3 separate regions of the Homo sapiens genome follow, and regions 2 and 3 are each linked to region 1. Evidence: promoter capture Hi-C in human tissues and cell types (Jung and others, 2019). All regions are on one chromosome and are shown on one strand. The core of a region is centred on a gene start or on the middle of the fragment in contact, and the rest is flanking DNA. Distances in the headings are between cores, read along the strand shown. Region 1 holds the start of RECK (reversion inducing cysteine rich protein with kazal motifs). Region 2 has its middle 10 kb from the start of HRCT1. Region 3 overlaps CLTA (clathrin light chain A).

Evidence for each region. The method cuts DNA at HindIII sites, captures the fragments that hold promoters and counts their contacts. A contact is called where the count stands out against the background at its distance.
Region 2: a fragment that was not itself captured here is called in contact with the fragment with the promoter of RECK in region 1 in 4 of the 25 tissues and cell types used here (IMR-90 fibroblasts, aorta, lymphoblastoid cells and 1 more).
Region 3: a contact is called between a fragment that was not itself captured here and the fragment with the promoter of RECK in region 1, in 2 of the 25 tissues and cell types used here (dorsolateral prefrontal cortex and mesendoderm cells).

The regions. Positions count from the first base shown.
Region 1 is chr9:36,035,300-36,039,072 of GRCh38, forward strand. RECK (reversion inducing cysteine rich protein with kazal motifs) reads left to right here and starts at 1,614. Exons shown (of 21, transcript NM_021111.3): 1 at 1,614-1,799. The coding sequence starts at 1,700. RefSeq lists silencers at 1,534-1,733, 1,744-1,893. The HindIII fragment of the contact is 17,807 bases long and covers 1-3,773 here.
Region 2 is chr9:35,893,682-35,897,830 of GRCh38, forward strand. No RefSeq gene overlaps it. Among named protein-coding and RNA genes, the nearest start is that of HRCT1, 10 kb to the right of the region's middle. RefSeq lists an enhancer at 1,709-2,208. The HindIII fragment of the contact is 7,635 bases long and covers 1-4,149 here.
Region 3 is chr9:36,194,770-36,198,660 of GRCh38, forward strand. It overlaps CLTA (clathrin light chain A), which reads left to right. Exons shown (of 5, transcript NM_001833.4): 2 at 2,782-2,819. Among named protein-coding and RNA genes, the nearest start is that of CLTA, 5.8 kb to the left of the region's middle. The HindIII fragment of the contact is 6,945 bases long and covers 1-3,891 here.

The sequences.
Region 1 (3,773 bases), core at 364-2,863:
ACTTGTATAACTAGAGGCTTTTTAGTGGGATAGACCAAATAAGGCAACTTTATAACTGTAACCAATCAAATATTTTCTTTTTATTACTTTCCCATTCACTCTGTAAAAATCTGCTTCTTCGACAGAGCTGAGCCCCAGAACCACTTCTGGTTTGCAGCTTCTCAATTCATGAATCACCGCGTGCTGAAGTAAACTTTAAAATTTTATTGTGCCTCAGTTTACCTTGTACACAGAAGCAACAGAGTCATCAGAGGAGATGTTTTAGATATTTTAACTTATTCATGTTTTCCTTTTGTAAACTCGAAAGAGAGGATAAATGTAAGAGCCCAAAAACATAAAAACCAACTTTAATATATGGATTTTGTTTAGAACTTGAAAAATTGTAAAAAGAAATCATGAGACAATAAGAAAAATGTAAATAATGACTGGATATTTAATAATATTAAGGAATTTTAAAAATGTTTTAAGTAATTTAGCCCCAGGTGTCTTCATGAGAATTTAAAACGGTGGTCATGCTTTTTCAAAAAAGGAGGAAAAAGGGTTTAATTCAGGAACACACAGAGAAAAAAAGAGACAATGAATTAGCTTTGCTAGCCAGTGGCTTAAACATTCTCCACGTAGCTGCTGGGCTGATGGGTGGGGTGGGACCCACTTCCAACTTGTCTCTTGGACAAAGTCTATACTTCTCAGCCGGATATTCAAGGCTTTCCACATCTAGGTATACAAGCGTTCTCCTATCCTCTTTTCCTATCAGGAATAGGTGCTTAATAGTAACATCAAGGCCAGGCACAGTGGCTCACGCCTGCAATCCCCGTACTTTGGGAGGAGGAGGCTGGGGGATTGCTTGAGGCGAGGAGTTCGAGACCAGCTTGAGAAATATGGTGAAACCCCTTCTCTGCAAAAAAAATATAAAAATTAGCCAGGCGTGGTCACCTGCGCCCGTGGTCCCAGCTATTCAGGAGGCTGAGGTGGGAGGATCGCTTGAGCCCGGGAGGCGGAGGTTGCAGTGAGCCGAGATCGCGCCACTGCACCCCAGCTTGGGCGACAGAGCGACTCTTGCCTAAATAAATAAATAAATAATTTTTAAAGTACAACAAAGACACATTGAGGCTATAGTGCCAAAGAGCTCTAGTGATGAACCCTTGTCAGGGGGCCGTGTCTGCGGGAGGCCGAAGGATCCCGGGTGACATGCTTTCTTTGGGTGCGAGGCAGCGTCTCGGCAGAAAGAATATTGCGAGTATTACTGAGGGTACATGAAGGAGAGAAGCCCCTTTGGTTCGGCCTTGGACTAAGCCCTTGTTCTCAGGTGAACTTGCAGTGTGATCTTGAGTAAGGTCAGTCTCCTCTCTCACCTCAGTGGCCCGAAACCTCAGGAGGTGGCAGAGGTTTTCTAATGACTCTCCCAGCTCTGACATCCTCTGACTTCACTCTGGGAGAACGTGGGCTGGTGGACTCCTGGCAGAAGCCGACACACAGTTGGGCCATAACAAAGAGCCCTGGTACGGGGCACGTTCCCGCCCCCGGGAGGTTTTGGAAACACTGTGAGGCAGGGGGCGGGGCTTGAGCGGGCCGCAGCCAGTCACCAAAGGGCCGGGCGCTGGGGGCGGGGCCTCGCGCGAGCGGCGGCGGTAGCGGCGGCAGCGGCTGCGGCCAAGCTGGGTCCGAGCATCCCGCGGCTCTGGAGCCGCCCGGCCCGGACATGGCGACCGTCCGGGCCTCTCTGCGAGGTGCGCTGCTCCTTCTGCTGGCCGTGGCGGGGGTCGCGGAGGTGGCAGGGGGCCTGGCTCCGGGCAGTGCGGGTGAGTAACCTCCAGAGCAACGGTTCGAAGCTGTCGGGAGCGGCCGCCACAGCGCTCCAAGATGGCGCGGGGCAGGGGGCGGGGGTGCGCGCGACCCCCAGACCCTGCCCACGTCCGGCGACCCCGGGACCCCAGGTCTCAGCGCTCCAGAGGCTGGTGCCGAGGCGGGGCGAGTGAGGAACTCTCTCCGCCCCAAGATCTTCTGGGCGGTGACTCGGGTTTGAGGCCTTGGTCTGTCACCCACCGACACGGGCCCCCTCTTCGGCACTGACCCCTTCGCTTGCCTCTGCTGCTTGTCAGAAAAGGGTGCGATGCCCCCGCCCAGGATCGTCGCGAGGTTTAGATGGGATTTCGGATACGCAGCCGCCCTACCGCGGCCCTAGTTAGTTATTGTTACTTGTTACTTGACCCGCACTTGGTTCATAACGACCTTGGTGGCGGTGAGCACTGACGGTCCCCACAGCCCGCGTGGTGGGTCCTGGACTCGGGCAGGAGACATTAAAAATCAGTAAACCCTGTCCCCCGGGGGCTGGCAGGCTTGAGGAGAGAAATTCTTGCTCTACAAGAACTAAACCAAGGATGGATAGGAAACTGTTAAGTGCTTATTGATTGCTTCCCGCTTGCTGGCCTTTTGAGTGCACGCCGACTCCTTCCGTCCAAAAGCTCTCTCGGTAGGAGATGGGGTACAGCAGGAGATTGAAGTAACTCGAATTCAAGGCAGAAATGTCCAGAGGAAATGAAGGGCCATGTATGAGTGCACAGAGGGAGAGAGGACATCGACCTAGGATGAGTGGAAAGTGGAGTGATTCCCCCTAGCTGTACTAGACATTGAAAGATGGCTAGGACGTGTGCATGCAAAAGTGGTGAAGTGCATTGCTTACAGGGAGACAGGCAGAGACACCTTAAAAAAAAAAAAAAAAAAAGCAAAGTCAGCCGGGTGCGGTAGGCTCTCCCCTGTAATCCCAGCACTTTGGGAGGTGGAGGCGGGCGGATCCCTTGAGCCCAGGAGTTCGAGGCCATCCTGCTTAACATAGTGAAACCCCGTTTCTACTAAAAATACAAAAATTAGCCGGGCATGGTGGTGTATGCCTGTTGTTCCAGCTACCCGCGAGGCTGAGATACGAGGATTGCTCGAGCCCCGGGAAGTTGAGGCTGCAGTGATATGCCACTGCCCTCGGAAGTGAGACCCTGTCTCAAAAAAAAATCAAAGTCAGTTCCAACAGGGGTATTAACTATAGCTAGGTTTCAAATTTAGCTGTAAACTATCCCAAAGAATAAAAGAGAAAATGCTGTGTATTCTTGGCTAAATCAGATTACTTTCCTGGGCCCCATTTTTCTCCCTGTTAAATTAAAAGAGATTGAACTGAAACACTTACAAAATTATGAAATACTAGTTGTCCATTCTCCTCCCACAACCAGTCAGTTCTGCAGGAGGTAGTACAGTGGAGTGGTTAAGAACATTGAGCAAATTACTTAGCTTTAATCTTTTTGTGCTCAAATAGCCACATTTATTATAAATGGTACCTCACAGATTTTATTATGAGAATCGAGGTAATACATGTCCAGCATTTAGCGTAGTAAGCAGTGAAATATTAGCTATTAAGTATGTTCGGGAAATACTGCAGATGGTACCCTGTCTTATAAATTCACAAAACACATTAGATTCACAATAAAGGGTCCAAGGATTCCTGTGGTAAAACAAACAAACAAACAACAAAAAAAAAAACAAGAAACTTTTTTGCTGGGGGAATGGCAGTGATTGCTAATGAGTATGAAGTTTCTTTTGGGAGTAATGAAAATGTTCTAAAATTAGATAGTGGTGATGGCTACACAACTCTGTGAATATACTAAAAACAACTGAATTGTACATATTAAAAGGGTTAATTTCATGGTATACAAATTGTAGCTCAATAAAGTTGTTAAAGAAAGAAACTTGTTTGCTCATAAAATTCTTTTTTTCTTCATAACACCTAA
Region 2 (4,149 bases), core at 732-3,231, 140 kb before region 1:
GTGTTTTCTTCTATTTCAAACATATAGAAACGTTGAAACATAGAGAAAAGTTCAAACATATTTCAAACACACAGAAAGGTTGAAATAATTGTACAGTTGAATATACCTAACACTAGTCTCTATAATTAACTACTTGCTACAGTTATCAGATATCAATTTGTCTATCCAACCATCTCTCCATAACATTTTTTGATTATTGTCTACTTTTTAGAAGTGTTTCTTTTTATATGTGTGTAGGACAGGTTGAAAACCCACTCAGGAAATTATTATCTCTTTGAACATTGTTCTACAAAAGCTTAATCAGGAGCTTTTTCAAATTTCAGGGCAAAAGAACTTGAAAGCTTCTCTCCTTTTCCTCTTTATTATCCTCTTATGCCTGTGTCCTGATTTTCCTCTCCTGTGGATTCTCGGAGACATGACTTCTCTTTCCCATCAGAGAGCAAGCTTTCTGAGTGAAGCATCATACTCGGTTACATCTCTCAGCCTAGCACAATATTGTTCTGGGTTAGAGGTAGGCTTTGGGGTCAGACAGGTCTGCACTTGATTCTGGCTCTGTCATTTACTACTGCGTGACCCAGAATGGGTGCTTTATTTATTTATTTGTTATTTTGGGGGACAGAGTCTCACTGTATCCTCCAGGCTGGAGTGCAGTGTCACGATCTCGGCTCACTGCAACCTCTGCTCCCAGGTTCAAGCGATTCTCCTGCCTCAGCCTCCTGAGTAGTTGGGATTACACACCCAGCTATTTTTTTGTATTTTTAGTAGATATGGGGTTTCACCATGTTGGTCAGGCTGGTCTCGAATTCCTGATCTTAGGTGATCCACCCACCTTGGCCTCCCAAAGTGCTGGGATTACAGGGGTGAGCCACCATGCCGGGCAACAGTGAGAGCTTTAACTCTCTAAGCCTCCTATGTAATGTGAGGACAATAGGTTTGTTGTGAGATCTAAAGATACATTTGTAAAGTGTAATTATTCTAGCAATTATTAAAATAGTTGGGGAGGAAAAGGAAAGGAGATTATTGCTTATGAATGACTCCTTTTGTGCTTTCCTTGTGAATATTTAGGTCCCAGAATTTACCCAGTGTGTTGTAATAATTTATATTTCTGTCTCCTGTCCTAGGTAAAAAGCTCTTGGAAGGCATGGATTGTCTTTTTTCTACCCAGCCTCAGCACCAGGCACAGAGTCTAGTTCAACAGATGTTAGTTATATCAATGAATATAATTCTAAGTGTCACAATTATCTTTAGATAATGATTTCAGAAAATTACAGAGACTTGAAAATCCAGAGAGCAATAAATCTTAGACTGCACAGATTCAATCTGTCTCCAGTTCTTCCCTCGTTGTGCATGAGGGCAAACTTAGGCTCAAGAAAGTTCACTATGTTTACTGCATATACATGTCTCAAAGCCCATGGACATGCTGCCCAGGGAAGGCAGGAGAAGCAGTCCCCTTGGATTAATCAGCTCCCACACATCCCCAAGGACAGTGAATCTAGGAGACCTCTTCCACCTGTTGGCATCTTTTTTTTTTTTTTTTGAGACAGAGTCTCGCTCTGTCACCCAGGCTGGAGCACAGTGGCGCGATCTCGGCTCACTGCAACCTCTGCCTCCCGGGTTCAAGCGATTCTCCTGCCTTGGCCTCCTGAGTAGCTGAGACTACAGGCGCACGCCGCCACACCTGGCTAATTTTTTTGTATTTTAGTAGAGATGGGGTTTCATTGTGTCGCCCAGGCTGGTTGCGAACTCCTGAGCTCAGGCAATCCGCCGCCCTTGGCCTGCGAAAGTGCTAGGATTGCAGGCATGAGCCACCGCGCCTGGCTGGCATCTTTAAAATGACACCAATGAAGCTTATGATTCTGGGGTCTAGCTGCTCTCTTCGTTGGTGAATAGGTGGATCACTTTGCAGACCTGTTCTACTTGGTGGGCATGCTTCTGAATATTTTTCTAAAGGTGCTGTAACTTTTGTTGCTTTCATTATTATACAAGTAAAATGTTTATTGTTGCAAGTTTTAGAAATGTAGAAATGCCAAATAAAAAGCAGTCACCTGCAAACTCACTGCTCAGAGGAAGCCCTATAAAGATTGCATCTTGTAGCTCTTCAGACTTCTGTCTGTGCGTGTTTATAGGTGTAACACAAACATTGCCAGCACTAACCACCCTGCATGTACAAATGAGGTCACATTTTCATGAATTCCTAGATTTTGCAGACCACACTCCCCATCCAAATAACATCAGTGCCTCAGTGTATTCACCTCTAGCCCTGTCTTCCTGTAGCCTTCCCCATTTGTTTTTGAAGCTCCCTAGCAGCTGCTGCACACATTTTGCACTTCATGCCTTTCTTCTCTCTCCTTCCCATCATCCTTTGGGGCCAGAAGGAACCAGGCTTCTCCCAGGCCTGGATATCATGGCCTCCATCTACCTTAGAGCTTCAAACTTCGGCTACATGGCTGTCGCATGTGGAATGGAGGAGCTTTCTACGTTATAGGAGATCTGCATGGGCTGGGTCCTCGTTTGGTCCTTGATTCAGTGTGTTGAAAGGGAGAGAAAAAAGAATTTGGAAAATCCTCTTAGGAAACTGGCTTGACTTACAGGGCAAAGTCCAATTTTGAAGGTCAAAGACTGCATGCATATTAAAGTCCTTCTCCTTGCATTCTTTTTGTAATAATTCAACTCTCTCTCCAGACAAATGCTCTGGAACAACTAGGAAGAAACTTACATATTTGGAAAAGTAACTTTAAAGAGCAGGTTATCAGTCTAGGCAACATAGCGAGACCACGTCTCTACAAAGAATAAAAAAGTTAGCCAGACGTGGTGGCACACACCTGGAGTCCCAGCTACTTGGGAGGCTGAGGCGGGAGGATTGTTTGGGAGGAGGTAGAGGCTGCAGTGAGCTCTGATCATGCCACTGCACTCTAGCCTGGGCAACAGAGCAAGATCCTATCTCAAAAAAAGTATATTACTACTTTTCAAAAATATTACCTCTATAGCATATAAGAATTTATTTAACAGATGCTTGTGGCAGGTTGTTTGCAAGTCTCACAGGATCCATATCCCCTGAAGTGCAGCCTGGACTATAATGCGGGCTCCTCCCTTTCAGACACATGGTGTGGTGCTTCGGTTAGTCAGGTCTTCTTTCACAGCTGTCAGTGAAGACTTGCTTTTTCTTTTGTTCATTGGTCTTCCACATCTCTTGTTAAGTTTATTCTTGTTTGTTCTTAGAAGTTTTATAATTTTTGTTTTAAGTTTCAATAATGCCTTCATTCTGTCTTTGAATTAGTAATTACTGTTATGTAGGAAAATCACCGATTTTGTATTTTTATTTTTAAATTTTAGAATCTAAATTTATTATTATTATTATTATTATTATTATTATTATTTAGAGATGGGATTTCACCATGTTGGCCAGGGTGGTCTTGAACTCCTGGAGTCAAATGATCTGCCTGCCTTAGCCTCCCAAAGTGCTGGGATTATGGGCATGAGCCACTGCTCCTGGTCAAAAATTTAAATTAAGTTTTATTTAAAAATTTGAATTTTTAAATTAACTCTTATTAGTGTTAATAGTTCTCCAGTATATTCTTTCAAGTTTTCCAGATATGTAGTCACATCATCTCTAATATTTCTACCTTTTATTATACATTGTTATTGTATTAAGCTAACTAAAAATGGTGGAAGTAAGCATTCTAGCTTGTTCCTGGTTTCAACAGGAATCTCAAAGTGCTGGGATTACAGGCCTATTTTTTTTCACCATTAATCATGATGTTGACTACTGGTTTGAGATATTTTTCCTTTTAATAATGTTAAAAGAGTATCCTCCTAATAGTACACTTTTTTTGTTTTACTCATTTGCAACACAGGAGTACCTTGGAGGTACTGCAGGTTCAGTTCCAAATCACTGCAATAAAGTGAGTCATACCAATTTTTTGGTTTCTCAGTGCATAAAAAATTATGCTTACACTATCCTATAGTCTATTATGTGTGCATTAGCATTATGTCTAAAAAGTACATATCTTAATTTAAAAATACATTATTGGCTGGGTGCAGTGGCTCATGCCTGTAATCCCAGCACTTTGAGAGGCTGAGGTGGGCAGATCATGAGGTAAGGAGTTTGAGACCAGCCTGGCCAACATAGTGAAACCCCATCTCTACTAA
Region 3 (3,891 bases), core at 458-2,957, 160 kb after region 1:
GTTGTTGTAGTAAGTCAAGGCCCTACATGTCCTTTCTGCATGTTTCCACAGCAACAGACGATCCCTTGGCTTGAGCCAGTTGATTCTTGTAAGAATGTTAGTGCAGTAATACAGTAACTAATAAAGAGGAAAGCAGATGCCAGTGGGTCTGGAGGAGCCTTCAGACAGCATGTGATTTTTAAGGAGATGTGGGATGAGGATTGCTTCTTGTTTTGTATATGGAGTAGTGATCAAAGTCTCTCATATTCCAGCCCAGGGCTGGACTATATTAGTGGATAGTTGGTATGTCAATTGTACTATATTAACCATAATGTAGGCCTGGCCAGACTAGCCACTGTAGGATCTAGGATTTAAAACTATCTCACTCTTCTGTCTTACACAAAAATAAATTCCAGGTGGATTAAAGAGAGACATTTAAAAAGTAAAAGAAGAAAAGTGAGTATTTGTCTATCTCATAATAGGAAAGGCCTTCAGCATAAAAGCAGATACAGAAATCATGAAGAAAAAGTCGATCATGTCTACATACACAAATTAAGTTGTTCCAAGTGTTAAATACCATAAACCAAATCAAAAGAGAAACTAGGGAAAATATTTGACTATTAGAGAGCAAATACTTAGAGATCAAAAAATAGCAGGAAAATAGGCAAACTCAGAAAATTCAGTAAAGAAGAAAATCAGGTGTCGGGTATGTGATTACCTCACTGGAAATAAGATTGGCACAACAAAGCCACCATGAGTTTGTTTTTTTTTTCCATTATCAAATTAGCAAAAATTTTAAAACATGATCAAGCACAGTCCCTAGTATCAGGGAAGGTCTAAGAAATGGGGCACTTGTGCTGCTAGTAGTAATATAAACTGGTAGACTAATAGGAACAAGTGGGTAGAATTTTAGAAGTCTTTGAAATACATATCCTGGGCCAGGTGCGGTGGCTCACGCCTGAAATCCCAGCACTTTCGGAGGCTGAAGTGGGCGGATCACCTGAGGTCAGGAGTTTGAGACCAGCCTGACCAACATAGTGAAACCTCGTCTCTACTAAAAAATACAAAAATTAGCCGGGCATGGTGGCACGTGCCTGTAATCCCAGCTATTCGGGAGGCTGAGGCAGGAGAATCACTTGAACCTGGGAGGCGGAGGTTGCAGCAAGCCGAGATCGCGCCAGTGTACTCTAGCCTGGCCAACAGCGTGAGACTCCGTCTCAAAAAAAATAAAAAAATACATATCCTGGCTGGGCGCAGTGGCTCATGCCTGTAATCCCAGCACTTTGGGAGGCTGAGGTGGGTGGATCGTCTGAGGTCAGGAGTTCGAGACCATCCTGGCCAACGTGGTGAAACCCCCGTCTCTACTAAAACTACAAAAAAAATTAGGTGGGCATGATAGCTCACGCCTGTAGTCCCAGCTACTCAGGAGGCTGAGGCAAGAGAATCACTTGAACAACCCAGGAGGTGGAGGTTGCAGTGAGCCAAGATTGCACCACTGTACTCTAGCCTGGGCAACAGAGCAAGACTCTCTCTCAAAAAAAAATAAAATACATATCCTGTGATCCAGCAATTCCTTTTTTTTCTTTCTTTTTTCTTTTTTTTTTTTTTTATTTTTTGAGATGGAGTCTCGCTCCGTCACCCAGGCTGGAGTGCAGTGGCGCGATCTTGGCTCACTGCAACCTCTGCCTCCCGAGTTCAAGCAATTCTCCTCTTTCAGCCTCCTGAGTAGCTGGGATTACAGGCTCATGCCACCACCCTGGCTAATTTTTGTATTTTTAGTATATGGAGGTGGGTTTCACCATGTTGGCCAGGCAGGTCTTGAACTCCTGACCTCGAGTGATCCTCCCACCTTGGCCTCTCAAAGTGCTGGGATTATAGGTGTGAGCCACCGCGCCCAGCTGTAACCCAGCAATTCTACACCAAGAAATTTATTACAGAGGCGAAATTGAATATGCTTCCCCCATGCTTTCACTAGTTTGATAAACTTCATATTTCCAAAACTTTATAGAGTGCTTAAAAAACTACATAGGTAGGTGGCACATGCCTTAAAGTGGTAAAAGGCCACTGACAAACTATAAGAAACTCATTTTTGTACTGACATATAGGAGTAAAAGTCAACTAGGAAAATTAAGAAAAATATGAGAGGCCAGGCATGGTGGCTCATGCCTGTAATCCAATACTTTGGGAGACCGAGGCGGGTGGATCGCTTGAGTCCAGGAAATCGATAGCAGCCTGGGCAGCATGGCGAAACCCCCTTCCTACAAAAAAATAGAAAAATTATCCAGGCGTGGTGGCGCATGCCTGCAATCCCAGCTCCTGTGGGGACTGAGGTGGGAGGTTCGCTTGAGCCCAAAAGGTCGAGGCTACAGTAAGCCATGATTGGGCCACTTTGCTCCAGCCTGGGCGACAGAGCAAGACTGTCTCAAAGATGAAGCTGCAGGTCTCTGCTCACTATGGGTGATTCCAGGCCACACTTTTTTTTTTCCCTCATGCAGAATTTTCATAGAGAAACACTGTTCTCTTTCTGCTAGTCTTCCATTTGTTACCACTGTAAAATAGAAAACAGAAAATAAAATCAAAAGCTTTTGGACTTGGGAGCTTAAGGACAGATGTGTACACATTTTGGTGAAATTTGTATATAAGCACATCTTGGTTTTATTTGTTGTATATAGCACCTACCACAGGGATAGCATTTAGTAGCTCAAGGTTCATACAGCATATGATGCTGTATTCTACTGTACAACCCTTTGGCCCAGTGTTTGACCAGTCCTTATTGATAGACCAAAATCTTATGTCTTGCAGATGCTGTTGATGGAGTAATGAATGGTGAATACTACCAGGTACAGAGTACTCTGATTCTGTTCATTGATAGTGATTGAGAATCTTCCTTTCCTGTGATTTTAATTGACTGACCTAGAAAGAAACCCCAGTCCTTTGACTTTCCTGAATGTATTACTGGCTGGTGTGTTATCTACCAAAGTGGAAAGATTTAAAGAGAGGTAGCATTGATAAAAAGAGAACTGTTTAAAAATGTTATTTACCTGCCCCTAGTGTTATCACCTTTATTCTAAAGAAATCACCATTCAAATGATACTGTGTTGAGTGCAGTAAGTTAATACTAATACTTTAAATAATTCTCCTTCCATCTTTGTTTATAGTCTGATTAGGTTAACCTGGTAATATTAATATTCCTTAGTTCAGTGAGTGGCATATGGAATAATTTTGTAAAGATTAACATTTATTTGAGTCTTTTTTTTTTTTTTTTTTTTTGAGACAGTCTCACTGTCGCCCAGGCTAGAGTGCAGTGGCACGATCTTGTCTCATTGCAACCTCCACCTTCTGGGTTCAAGCGATTCATCCACTTCAGCCTCCTGAGTAGCTGGAATTACAGGCGCATGCCACCACGCCCGGCTAATTTTTTGTATTTTTAGTAGAGATGGGGTTTCGCCATGTTGGCCAGGCAGGTCTTGAACTCCTGGGCTCAAGTGACCATCCCGCCTTGGCCTCCCAAAGTGCTGGGATTACAGGCGTGAGCCACCGCACCCCGCCAGAGCCACCGCAACCTTGGCTCACTGCAGAACCCGTTTCTAACAACAATGGCGGCTTTTGTAAAATGTTAAAGGATTACCTTAAAAGCAACAACACAGGCCGGGCACGGTGGCTCACGCCTGTAATTCCAGCACTTTGGGAGGCTGGGGTGGGTGGATCATTTGAGGTCAAGAGTTCGAGACCAGCCTGGCCAACACAGTGAAACCCGTCTCTGCTAAAAATACAAAAATTAACCAGGCGGTAGTGGCATGTGCCTGTAATCCCAGCTACTGGGGAGGCTGAGGCAAGAGGAGAATTTGCTTGAACCCGGGGAGTAGAGGTTGCAGTTGGCCAAGATTGCGCCACTGCACTCCAGTCTGGGTG